Regions from separate parts of the Homo sapiens genome. Here all the other regions are linked to region 1. The links are contacts of gene promoters, found by promoter capture Hi-C in blood cells and fetal thymus (Javierre and others, 2016). All regions are on one chromosome and are shown on one strand. Each heading gives the region's core, a stretch centred on a gene start or on the middle of the fragment in contact. The rest is flanking DNA. Distances are from core to core; before and after follow the strand shown. Region 1 holds the start of FLI1 (Fli-1 proto-oncogene, ETS transcription factor). Region 2 has its middle 75 kb from the start of LINC02725. Region 3 overlaps LINC02725 (long intergenic non-protein coding RNA 2725). Region 4 overlaps LINC02725 (long intergenic non-protein coding RNA 2725).

The links. The method cuts DNA at HindIII sites, captures the fragments that hold promoters and counts their contacts. A CHiCAGO score of 5 or more calls a contact.
Region 2: a fragment that was not itself captured here is called in contact with the fragment with the promoter of FLI1 in region 1 in 1 of 17 cell types (total CD4 T cells); the score reaches 5.3 in total CD4 T cells.
Region 3: a fragment that was not itself captured here is called in contact with the fragment with the promoter of FLI1 in region 1 in 10 of 17 cell types (total CD8 T cells, activated CD4 T cells, total CD4 T cells and 7 more); the score reaches 15.0 in total CD8 T cells.
Region 4: a fragment that was not itself captured here is called in contact with the fragment with the promoter of FLI1 in region 1 in 14 of 17 cell types (activated CD4 T cells, total CD8 T cells, total CD4 T cells and 11 more); the score reaches 24.1 in activated CD4 T cells.

What each region holds. Positions count from the first base shown.
Region 1 is chr11:128,692,550-128,695,672 of GRCh38, forward strand. FLI1 (Fli-1 proto-oncogene, ETS transcription factor) reads left to right here and starts at 1,523. Exons shown (of 9, transcript NM_002017.5): 1 at 1,523-1,727. The coding sequence starts at 1,710. SENCR (smooth muscle and endothelial cell enriched migration/differentiation-associated lncRNA) reads right to left here. Exons shown (of 3, transcript NR_038908.1): 2 at 106-842. RefSeq lists silencers at 582-631, 652-791, 1,475-1,844, 2,065-2,114, 2,155-2,374 and 1 more and a cis regulatory region at 1,011-1,743. The HindIII fragment of the contact is 9,137 bases long and covers 1-3,123 here.
Region 2 is chr11:128,019,432-128,022,554 of GRCh38, forward strand. No RefSeq gene overlaps it. Among named protein-coding and RNA genes, the nearest start is that of LINC02725, 75 kb to the right of the region's middle. RefSeq lists a silencer at 569-767. The HindIII fragment of the contact is 1,257 bases long and covers 850-2,106 here.
Region 3 is chr11:128,149,546-128,152,668 of GRCh38, forward strand. All of the region lies in intron 2 of LINC02725 (long intergenic non-protein coding RNA 2725), which reads left to right. Among named protein-coding and RNA genes, the nearest start is that of LINC02725, 55 kb to the left of the region's middle. The HindIII fragment of the contact is 191 bases long and covers 1,373-1,563 here.
Region 4 is chr11:128,166,897-128,170,019 of GRCh38, forward strand. LINC02725 (long intergenic non-protein coding RNA 2725) reads left to right here. Exons shown (of 6, transcript NR_183639.1): 3 at 276-359; 4 at 2,317-2,450. Among named protein-coding and RNA genes, the nearest start is that of LINC02098, 40 kb to the right of the region's middle. The HindIII fragment of the contact is 2,885 bases long and covers 169-3,053 here.

The DNA.
Region 1 (3,123 bases), core at 273-2,772:
AGCCGAATTGATGAGACTAATTTCTAGAGAGGGAGGGGGAGGGAGGGAGACGAGTGAGCTCTCGGGCTCAATTGCTCCTGAAGAAATAAAGAATTAATAAGTCACCTTTTTTCGCCTCTGTGGACACCCTTTTGAAATTTTTTCTTCCAATTGACTTGGATCTCCTCTGGATTTTTTTTCCCTCTTTCCCCCGTCGGACTCTTAAATAAAAGTGAGCAAGTCCAAAGCGTGGTCCGGAGAGCGTGGACAAGGTAACCTGTTTTGGATGTCCGGGAGAAGGGAGTCCGGCCGAAAGGGCCCAGCCCCTCGAGGCTGCTCCAACTGGGGCGCGCGGCGGCCCAGGAGGGAGGCGGGGAGGTCTCCGGGTTGGGCCGGGGAACGCCGGCCTCCAGGCTGGGTAGGGAGGACGGTCCAGAGCGCGGGCCTCCGGGTCTCACCCCGGGAAAAGTCTGGGTCTGCTCTGCGCTGTTGCGTGCTGCGCTCCTGGGACCTGCTGACTGTCCTAGAGGGAACGTCCCGCGGTAGTGTCAGTTCCCTGGGGACCAGGAAGGGCGACTCTTGCCTGGGAGTCAGTGCTTGGGCCGTCGGGTCCGGGTAAGCGCTGGGGGTTTGGCTCGAGAAGATGCGGATAGGTGGCCTAGGGCGCCGCGGATCTCCGCCCTCTGCGGGCACCGGGAGCCCAGGGTCGAGGCGCGCCGCCCCGAGGGGCCCCTTCTCCTAACAATGCGCCCGGAATGGAGTCCGCGCCCTGACAGCGCGGGTCAGCCCGAAACCGCCCAGAATCCGCTTCGATGAGTGGGTGAGCCGCTCTGGGAGTCTGCCGCGTCTCGGCAGCGGAGGGCCTGAGTGGAAAAATTCTTATTGGATGCACTTTTTAATGGTTGGTTTGCCTCGGTTTTCGTCCGAGTCTTCCCCGGCAGTAGGCGCTGGGTTACCCGCAGCCCTAGCCAACTCTCCCTCCATACCCCCCCTACCCCACCCCCAAAAAGTTTGTCTCCGGCTGGAAAAAGCATTAATGAACGTATCTGTGGGAAGAAACGGAAAGTGAATGAGTCAGGAGGGCCACCTTCGGCCAACCGCCTCAGGAAAAGCAAAGAAGCCAAAGGTCTTTGGCTTTGGATTTTGGGGGAAGGTGATGGGGGGAGGTTCAGACTTCGGGAATCAGGGCGCGGACGCTGGGCGTGGACCCCGTCATTGTTCCCGGCTAGCTCTTATCTCCCAGGAGCAAGTATCCTGTGTGCGCAGCGCATGAATGTGTCTGGGCATCTCCGCGTATATTTATATAGTGTGTGATGCGAAAAGCAGGACCAGCAGGGGAGGAAGAGGGGGTGTGGGGGGGGAGGGAAGACGAGGGAGAGCAGAGGGGAGAGAAGAGAGAGGAGAGCTCGAGGCGAGAGAGAGAGAGAGAGAGAGAGAGAGAGAGAGAGAGAGAGAGAGAGAGAGATAGGACTTCCTCCCCGATTCGCAAAGTGAAGTCACTTCCCAAAATTAGCTGAAAAAAAAGTTTCATCCGGTTAACTGTCTCTTTCGCTCCGCTACAACAACAAACGTGCACAGGGGAGTGAGGGCAGGGCGCTCGCAGGGGGCACGCAGGGAGGGCCCAGGGCGCCAGGGAGGCCGCGCCGGGCTAATCCGAAGGGGCTGCGAGGTCAGGCTGTAACCGGGTCAATGTGTGGAATATTGGGGGGCTCGGCTGCAGACTTGGCCAAATGGACGGGACTATTAAGGTAAGCGGCGGGGCAACGGACGCGGGCGGCGGGGACCGGCCGGGGAGGCGAAGCGGCGGGCGGGTAGGTGCGGGGCCCGCGTCCCGGAAGACGTGGCCTCTCTCCCTTCCCTCCGCGCCCCGGCTTCGCGCCGGCTCCTCCGGCGCTCGGGTGGCGAGTCCTACTCGCGGGCCAGCCGGCCAGGCGCCCGCATTGAGGGCGACCCTCCCCCGAAATCCCAGCCCCCAAAGTGGAGCCCCGGCCCCCCTCCCACCTCGCTGCCCGCCGGGGCTGCAGGAGGGGACGGCGGGAAACCGGGGGACCCCAGGGTACGGAACGGAGTCAAGGGCGAGAGACCTCGGGGTCCACCACTCCCACCGACACCCGGGGCTCCCGTGGCCCCAGCGCTAGGCACTGGGCTTCCTCTCCGCAGAGGCGGAACACGGCGGGGGCGGGGGCTGCAGTCGCCCGGGCTCGGGTCCCTGCCTGGTGGGCCCTGGGGTGGGTAAGTGGCCTCGTTGCACGAGGGTAGGGGTGCAAGTGAGTGTGTCGGGGGATCTATCTGAGCGGGCTCCTCCAGATGGAAGCCCCTGTTTACATGTCAGCGCTTTCCCTTCCTCTCGGCACTCAGTCGCCCGGCTCTAGGCGCTGGAGAGCCGCCGGCTCCGCGGGACTCCTGGGCCGGCCTCGCCGCCTCTCCGGCGGGGAACCTTCCCCAGCCCCCGTCCGCACAGATCCCTAGCGCCCCGAGCCCCCGCCCTTCGCGCCTAGGCGTGCGCCGGCTCCAGGACCAGGGCTCCTGGAGCTGTCGCCTCCGAAAGGGTCCTGCGTCCTTCGGAGCCGCCTCCGTTGCAGGGGCCGGCTGTGAGCCCGCGCCCCGCGCCCGCCCGGCCATTCCCACCCCAGCCGCCGCCGCCAAGCCTGGGTCTAGGTTGCAAAGTGCAACCCAGGCGGAAAGGTGAGGGTTTGGGTTCGCGTCTCACTTCAGAAAAGTTGACTGCTGTCTCTGAAAGGGTTCGCCAAGTAGGGCCAGGAGCAGAGAGGAGGGACACCCCCTAACGTGACGGGCCTTAGAGGACCTAGGGGAATGAATGGGACCAGGGGTTAGCTTCGAGGCTGCCGCGCAACACCAAGCGGGAGTCTGTCTGGAAAAACTATTAGGCTGGCGAGGTGGGGACTGGCAGAGCCCGCCATTCCCCAGAACCCGAAAGAATCGACTCCCTGCTCAGGGCTCAGCAAGAGAAGGCTAAGATGTTGGGCTCAGAGAATTCAAGAGATTTTTATCTTCTGGGTGGGGTCGTGGTTTTTATTTTCTAAGTTTTTTTTATGAAAGTTTGAAATATGCTGACTTAGGTAAAAGACACCAACCGAAGGAACTTGCAAATCTGGAGATGAGATAACTGACTGTGATGGGTTA
Region 2 (3,123 bases), core at 228-2,727, 670 kb before region 1:
CTGTGGACAGTAACGGATGAACGTCAGAGATAGCAGGAGATGCAACTGGAAAATTGTAAAATAGGCCATTGGAAAATAGAACAGGGATGAGCTAAGTTGACTTACATACTAGGTCCCCTTGTTTAAACTTAGTCCTATTAGGCAGTGAGGAATATTCAGAACTTTTTTTAGTAGGGAAATTACATGAAAACAGTGTTGTTTTAGGAAGATTAATCTGGCCAAATTCAGAACGAATTAGATATGGCTAAAAGCTATGCATCTAGTTCAGATAATTAATTCCATCCAACAAGCGTTTATGAAGCTTTTCTATGGATATGTGCCGTCCATTGTCCTATAACATTGTCCTAGGGAGAAGCAAAGTGCTGACTCCAGAGATAATACAAAGTAAATATGATATGTACATATTCCTTAGGACATCAGAATTCTAACATTGGGAGCAACGCAAAAGAACTTTGGGTAAATACCTCTACTATAAGGCATTATAAGAGATGTTTCGCCGGCTGGACGCGGTGGCTCACACCTGTAATGCCAGCACTTTGGGAGGCCGAGACGGACAGATCACGAGGTCAGGAGATCCAGACCATCCTAGCTAAAACGGTGAAACCCCGTCTCTACTAAAAATACAAAAAAAATTAGCCAGGCGTGGTGGCGGGCGCCTGTAGTCCCAGCTTCTGGGGAGGCTGAGGCAGGAGAATGGCATGAACCTGGGAGGCAGAGCTTGCAGTGAGCCAAGTTCACACCACTGCACTCCAGCCTGGGCGACAGAGCGAGACTCTGCCACACACACACCCACACACACACACAAAAGCGGAGTGTTTCAAAACAGAAATATTCACTAAATGTTATGTAAGCTTCAAGGAGTAATCAATTAATATCAACTGAAGTGGAAGATTAACAGAAGGTCTCTCCTAGGTGACATGAGTGGAGCCTTGAAGGAGAATAGAGTATCAGCTGGTGGAACTTACTGCAATTGCACAATGTTGAGTCCTTTGCCACTATTACTCTACAGGCCAGCTTTATAACTCCCAGGCCCAAAGGCTGACATAGGCTTGGAGTTTCAGGTCAATTGTGTGGAGAGCTTGGATACGAACCATGCTCCATCCTGTAAATGTTCTAACTTGGGGGAAATCGGCAATAGACTGCTGGAACAACCTGATTCCGGCAGTAATGAAATATTGTTGGCTATTGATCTACCAGAAGACTGCATTGATTATCTGCCCTGTTGGTGACTAGGAAGCAGTGAAAAGAGACAAGAGGAGAGAACAGCGGCCATGCAGAGAGCAGGTGGTGCATGGTCCAGGCCTCCAGTCTGTTTCAAGAGATCCTGATGCTACTTTCTATGAGTACAGTGTTTGGGGGTGACAGGTTAGCACTTCACTGAAAGAGACATTGAGGGCTGCTGCAAGAACAGAGAAATGGTCAGCTGATCACTGACTTGCTCTCTATTCTTGGGCAGATCATCTTTCCCTGACACATTGTTCCTACCTGTAAATTGAAGATAATAATCCATGGCCCTTTGTTATCACAGTAAGTGGAAAATGAGATCCTGTAGGTGAAGGACGTTGAAGTCACAAAGAGAAAGGAGCTCTTCTATGAAACTTCCAGAGGGTAGTGGCAGCATCAACTGACATTTATGGGCGCTAACTCTGCACAGGGCACCATTGCTTATCCTGTACACTGCATTAACTAAAACTAAAAATTGTCCCTGTCTAGGGAAAGTTTGCCCTTCAAAAATCTTAGCTGCAGAGGTTACATAAATACATTCATAGAAGAAAAAACATAAGGAGGAGGGGAAAGATTTTTTTTAAAGCCCATATCTCTATGTTTAACTGACATGAGATTTTTATTTATTTTTACTACTTAAATTTTTTGAGCCTACACCGCAGGAATAAGCAGAGTCTATTAAAGAGTCTGATGCTGCAAATGATCTTACAGAAGATCACTAGAATTTATGATCAGCTCTGCCCTTGCAACCTGCCTTCCCTGCAGCAGCAGGCGAGGAAGGCAGAGAGGCTGAGAGGTCATTGGCTGACATCAGCAGGTACAAAGTATGCCATCCTTCCAGGTTTGGAGACGTGGAAGTAAACACGGATTGTGCCAGGAGCAAGCTTTGACCTGACTGTGGGGTTGCGGGTGGGGGCATGTGTGTCTGCTGGGCAGCAGGAGAAGAAGTTTCTCTCTGTACTGGGGCTGTGAAAGGCTGGGCTGCCCTCACACTGCAGGTGTCGGGGGCTCAGGAGCCTCTTCTTATCTTTTGTGTGACTGCAACTATTTTCCCAAGAAAATTAAAGTGACTTAGTCAGTTAACCTGAAATTCCCAGCAGCAGATTAGAAGTTTTGTCATCAGACTTTGGTGGCTGAGAGAGCAGAAAGTGCTGAGTGTGACAGAGGTGGGATTCCACTACCACCTAGTGGGCAGCAAGGGGCCACCTCTTTGCCCCTCATGGCTCCAAGGAACATCAAGGGAACTGGGAGGGAAACAGTCAAAAAGGAAGTTAATATAAGTTCTAGGTAGAATTAGACCATCTTGTAGTGCTTCCATCAGCCACCTGATGGGGTGCATTCTGAGCACCCCATCAGGTGTTGATAGTAGGTTGGAGAGCTGCTACCCTCCCTCAGAATTTGGTTCCTGGGCCCTGGAATGACAGGATGCACCCAGCCTGCTTCGGGGCAGTCGACTGGCCAAAGAGAGGCATTGGACCTGATTCGAGGAAACCTATTCTCATATTTGAAGCCAGGGGCTTATTCATCCACTGCAAAATCAGTTCACTGCTGTCAAAGACTATAGCTGAGTCATTTCTAGTTTCCTCCCTGCTGCCTGCCTTATGCACTGAGCATGTTGCTCTTGAAACACATTTTTTTGACAGTAGATGCAGTGCTCACAGTTTTATATGTGAAAGGAAGTGATGTTTATTATGATCACAATGAGACTAAAATGTGAGGATCACTGCCCACAAGCAGTTCATATTCTAGAGGAGCTGGGAGACACAAACAAGTAGTTGCAGAAAAATCTAACAGTGTGTAATGGTTAATTTTATGTGTCAGCTTGGCTAGGCTATGGTATCATTTTTGGTTAAACACCAGTCTAAATATTGCTGTAAATGTATTATTTAGATATTATTA
Region 3 (3,123 bases), core at 218-2,717, 540 kb before region 1:
GGAGGTAAGATAGAAGTTAGCATAAAGGGAAAGTGTGGCTCAGTGGTTACCGTGTCTAAATTATATTTAACAAAGATTCGTCATTACAATGGGGTTGATAAACCTATGACTAATAGAGAAAGCCTATGTGGTTAAATTTGTTTTTTAATTATCTCAAAGAATGTGATGCTGATTTAAAAAATTCTAATGAAGCACCATTTTTACCTACACAATTGATATTTAAAAGTGTGAATATCCAGTGTTTTCAAGGTTGGCAACAATAGGCACCCTCTAACAACACAGGTGGGAAACTGCTTTAACAACAACAACAAACTTTCTACAGAGCAATTTAATAACAGGTATCAAAAAACCTTAAAAATATGCATACATAACACCCACAAATTCAACTTAGAGGAATTTTACATAAAAAGTACGAATGTAGAATTTGATATTTGTGTAAATAATCTTTGTCATAACTTTGTTTTATAAAAAGGACAAATGGATAAAAACTAAACTCCTATAATAGGAAATTGGTTAAATATAACACATGCATATAATATAATAAAATACACTCACTAAAAATCATACCTTAGAAAAATATTTGCCAACATGAAAAAATTTTTAGGTTGAAATAGAAACAGAATTTTCAAAAGAACAAGCCACAAACCAGCATTTGCACATGTTTCTAGATTTTACAATCCCATCCACGTGTATATACATACATTACTGCTACATCATGTTAGCAACATCTTTAGCTAGTGAGAATATGTTTACAAATTTCGTTGTATTCGATTTTTCATTGCACAGGTACTATTGCAGTGGAGGAAGGTGGCCTGAAGCCAAAGTATGAAGTCAGAAGCATGGTCTTCTGAGCAGTGCCCTCCTTTTCATTCCTGGCCTTGCTTCCTGAACCTGGTTAACAGTTTTTCTAACAAAAATAGCTCTAGCTTCAGTACCCGCCATGCCATAGCTCCCTGCTCAATTCCCCGCTATCTTGTGCTTTGAACAGGATTCACTAACACTCAATGGTATAGCAGGTCGGATGTGAGTAGGAAGCCCAGCTTTATGACCTTTGGCTAACTATTTCATCTCACTGAAACTTAGTGCCCCCTTCTAGAAAATAGAAACCTAATGTCTGTCTTATAAGGTTGCTGTGAGAATTGAATAAGAACATGTGTATAATGAGCTTGGTCATATACCAGATAAACTAATATTAACTCGCTGTAACTCATGATTAAATATCAGGTTAACATCTACTGAGTTCATCTTACCACGTATCATCCCACTAACTCCAGAGGGTGAGAATTTATTCCCTGCTTAATGCAAAGTTTCCCCATGACCAGAGATTCTGGTTCTCTGAGGGTGATTGGGGCTACTGAAAACCATAAGAACAAGCTTGTGACTGGTGGTATTTTACCCTGCTATTCTCTTCTCTCATCCAGAAGTGTCTTTAGAGCACAGGGAGGGGAGGTGGGAACATACAGCTGGGTTCTGAACTCACTCCTACCAGCATCCATCAGGGAGCTCAGGCTGACCTTTGCAATGTCTTTAAGACACAGGGATTAAGGCATAGGTGACCCATGAAGCTTAGGTAACTAGTCAAGGAAAGGGGAGAGGATGAAAGAAGCATAGGAAGGAATATTTTTGGGGTGGTGAGTTTGTAGTGTCCTTCGAGTTAAATTGCACATTCCACAGAAGCAGATACCTAGTCACTTAATGATCAAATCATTTAGGATGCATCCTCCTGAGAAGATTAGAAATGGGAAAGGTCTGTCATAGCTACTAGTTCTGGTATCTGAGTTGCTCTCTCTCCGCACTTCTCAAATTTGGCTACACATTGGAATCACCTACGGAGCTTTACAAAGTGCTGATGTCTGGATCTTGGACCCAGAAATTTTGACGTAATTAGTGTAGGGAAGTGTTTATTAAAGTAAAATCCCCAGATCAGCAGCCTCACCTGGGAACTTGTTAGTCTTTAAAATCCTCAGAGCTCACCACAGACCTGCTGAACCAGATACTCTGCAGGTGGAGCCTATCAGCCAGTTCTAACAAGCTGTCTGAGGGCCTCAGATGAGTGCTAAAGTGGGCAAACCACTGATCTAGGTTGGGGCCTGGGCTATCTCCCCAGCTCCCCAGATGATTCTAGTGTGCATCCAAGTTTGAGAACCACAGCTCTACATCCTTTTTTTTTTTTTTTTTTTGAGGATTCTTAGGTCTTTCAAATATTCACCTTCACTTTCATCATAAGCTTTCAATGGCCTTTCCTTATGTGCTTATGGGGTCTGTGGAAACAGTTTTCTATTATTTCCAGGTGAGGTGGCAAAATCTGTCATTGCACTGAGGGATGTTAAATTCTCTGAACCACTGACAAATGGGCCACAGAAAACTGCCCTCCAGCTGCAACTGCACACCAGCAAGTCAAATGGCTCAGTCAGGGCCAAAAGAAGGATAAATAAGCAGAGTCAACAGAAGCACTGTCAAGCCCTAAACAGGAGGATAGATCACAAGGCAGTCAGCTTGGCAGATTAGCAGTGGCAATGAAATACAAGGGCTGCAGATTTAAATCTAACCTCTTTGTTTTCATGCTAGAGAGCCCACAGTAGGTCCATGACCTATTTAGTTTAGATCTAACACAGCTTAGATTCTAGCACTTTGGAAGGCTGAGGCAGGAGGATCACTTGAGTCCAGGAGTTCAAGAATAGCCTGGACAACATAGTGGGACCCCATATCTACAAAAAATTAAATTATCTGGGCCTGGTGGTGCATGCCTGTGATTCTGGCAACTCGGGAGGCTGGGGCAAGAGGAGCTCTTGAGCCTGGGAAGTTGAGGCTATACTGAGCCATGATCGTAAGAATGCACTCCAGCCTGGGTGACAAAGCAAGATCCTGCCTTAACATATAAAAAGAGTGGGGAAACAATCACAATACTCTCATTTCCAGTAGGAGAAACTACAAATTTGATTGAAAAGAATCTAACCCAGGTATTTCAAATCTTGGCTGAATTCTTGTGCTGGTTTTGCTGTTAAGTCTATAGATCTAATACACAGCATGAAGACTATAGTTAATAATATTATATTGTATACTGAAAATTTATTCAGAGAACAGATTTTAGGTGTTCTTACTACACAAAAAAGTAACTATGGA
Region 4 (3,123 bases), core at 361-2,860, 530 kb before region 1:
TGGCACCTAGCCTGTCGACTTTGAATGCGACCATAGTTTATATTTTTATCTGCATTTCCCTGATGTGATGAATGTCTCCCATGTACTCCTGCAGGGTCCCTCTTTACTTGCTCCGCCCTTTGTGTGCTCTGGGAGGCTAATCCAGATGTGCCGCATCAGGAGGCCTCAAGCTTCTGGTGGAGCTCGGCTTGTGGGACAGTCAGCCTCTGGGAGACGGAGCAAGTGGAGGAAGAGAGAAGTTGAGACAATTATTTCCCTAATTCCCTTTCTGGCAGGTCCTACTGGGTTAGTGTGATCTTCTGCGGAAGGCTGCAGCTGCTGTCAGGAGGCCCTCTGTCTACACTCCTCTCTGGAGAAGTGTAAGTGTTTTGTCAGGTAAATACTTCGTCACTCTCCAGCGTAGCAGTGAGAATCATCCCTCCTATCTCTAGCATCAGAGTCCCTCCTATTGTTTCTAACCACCCACCCCCCGTATCCTTGTAAATAATCTCTTTATTAAATTGTCTGCAAATTACTTCATTTTAATGTGCTGTCCATTTCCTTTTGGGACCCTGGCTGATATTGATACTGATGTTGGGTAATTACTGATTATTGATACTGATAGTTGACACTGATACCGATAATAATTATTATTAATAGCTAATATCCATAATTTGATACTGATTATCAGAAAAGGATACTGACACTCTAGGATATTAGCAGGATCAGTAAATACTGACACTGATACTGATATTAATACTGGCTGCTACTGCTAGGTAATTACTAGGTCTGTCTATCAATCTATCCATCTATCTAGGATGTTCTCACTCTTGTAAATATCTCTATAAAGCCTTGTCAAACAGAAAAAGGAGACAATGTGAAAGGGTCTTGTGTACATTTAGTCTCTATTCATCTATTACAAGTTTCCTTTCTAAACCAAATAGTTCTATATTGTTTTGGAGACTATCTAACCCTCATTAATTAGCTGTTTTATTTCTATTTCTTTATTGCTCATATATAACAATAGGAAAACTTGGTTAGTCAGTTAATTAACAAATATTTAGTAATGTATATTATTATATGACTTGAGACATGATAAACATGTTCTAAAAGTGTGGAACACAACATTTGATAAGAAAGGCAGAATCTCCATCTTCAAAGAGATTGCATTATAGTGGAAAGAGCCAGACAATATATAAATATATAAACCAAGAAATAAGATCATTAAGGTACTGATAAGTGTTATGAAGAAGATGAAACGGGGTGATTTTGACAGACATTGACTGTAACAGGACCAGTTGTTTTAGAGAGCATCAGAGCAGCTCTTCATGAGGAGGAGCATCAGAGAAGCTCTTCATGAGGAGGAGCCTCATGAAGGTGAAACCTAAATGATGAGAAGCCAGCTATGTAAGAGGAGCATTTGACACAGAAGGAACCATAAGTACAAATGTAATGAGATGAGAAATTTCTTTGGTATGTTGAAGACATCAGGACAGGTGAGTAGCATGCACCTGTGTCCCAGCTACACCAGAGGCTGAGGCAGGAGGATTGTGTGAGCCCAGGAGCTTGAGGATGCAGTGAGTTATGACCATAGCACTGCACTCCATCCTTTTGTGATGTCTTTTTTTTTTTAAGAAACGTCACTGTGTTCCGGGTGACAGAGCAAGATGACATTTCTGAAAAAAAAATGGGGGGACATCACAAAAGACCATGGATAAAACTAAGTAAACCAGAGAAACAAGAAGGAAGAGAGAGAGATGAATTGGGTGCATTGGCAAAGCCAGATAATGTTAGAATGACCAGGCCATGGGAAGAGTCAGGTTCAAAACATACTTAGAAGCCACTGGAGACTTTTAAATGGGCATAGGAGGATCTGATTTGTAGTTTAGAATGATTTCTCTGGCTGCTGCGTGTAGAACAGATCCTATGTAAGGGAGCAAATGTGGAGGCAGAAAAGCTACTGCAGAGGTGATAACATTAGCTAAAAGATCACAGTATCTGGGGAAAGGGTGGTTGCGGTAGAGAGAGTAAAAAGTAGTTGGTTTCAGAATACATTTTAATGGAAATGGAATAGCAGACTGATGATTGGATAATGGGAATTGAGGGAAATCAAGGAATCCAGAATGACTTGTAAATTTTTGTTCTAAGAAATTGAGTGGATAATGATGGCATTTACTTAAATAGCAAATACTTGTGGAGGTAAATTCTGGATATGTGGGGCAACCAAGGGTTTTGTTGATGCCATGTAAACTTTGGCATGCCAATTAGATACGAAGAGATACTGAGTGGAAAGCTGGATACTCAGGGGACCACAGTCTTCTGTTTCCTGGATTTCAGGTCCCTTTTAAACTGAAGCATAGTGAGAACAAGTGTAAAGCACAACACAGACGGAAGATTGCACCTTAGCTCACTGCCCCGTGCACCCCGGTTACACCGTCTAAGAAAACACTCTGGATTCAATCCTTGGAAAAGTAGGTAGGAATTTGCTTTTCATGGAATTCAATCTGAATGGTTTATAAAAGAATCAAGTCAGTTATTCATGTGGCAGCATTATGTGCCCCTAAATTCTCTGATTTCCATTAACTAATCTCAAGTAAATAACAATAGGCAATGTGTCCAATATTTTGATCTCTCCAAACTAGTAAGAGGCTCAAGATCAGAATCAATTCTTTGCAGAAATTCCAATCTCTTCATCACTAACATGGTATTTACTCTCAGTATGTGCTGAGCTACCACTTCTGGAAGAGTCTTTCCTGGTTAATTACTTGAAACCTGTTGCATTGGGAATTTCTCAGAAAGTCTGCCTTGATGAGCTTTACTCAAGAGCCGCAACTTCACGGATCGGACAACAGAAAAGACTTCGGCAGTTACCAAATCTGAAGTACTCATTGTGCATGCTAGCAATCTGGGACTAATAAGGTTAAATTGTCTGAGACCTCAAGGTGGAAGTGACAGGTGGGTCTAGAACTCAAGTTTACCAATGACAGTCCAGTGTTATTGTCATTATCCTTTAGAATTGTTCATTTATTCATTCATCACACACTTATGAAAGTCCTATTATGTATTATATACTAAGCTTGAAGACCAAAACAAATCAGTAAGATCCCTATCTTAAAGACTCTTAGATCTAGTACATGACTTAGT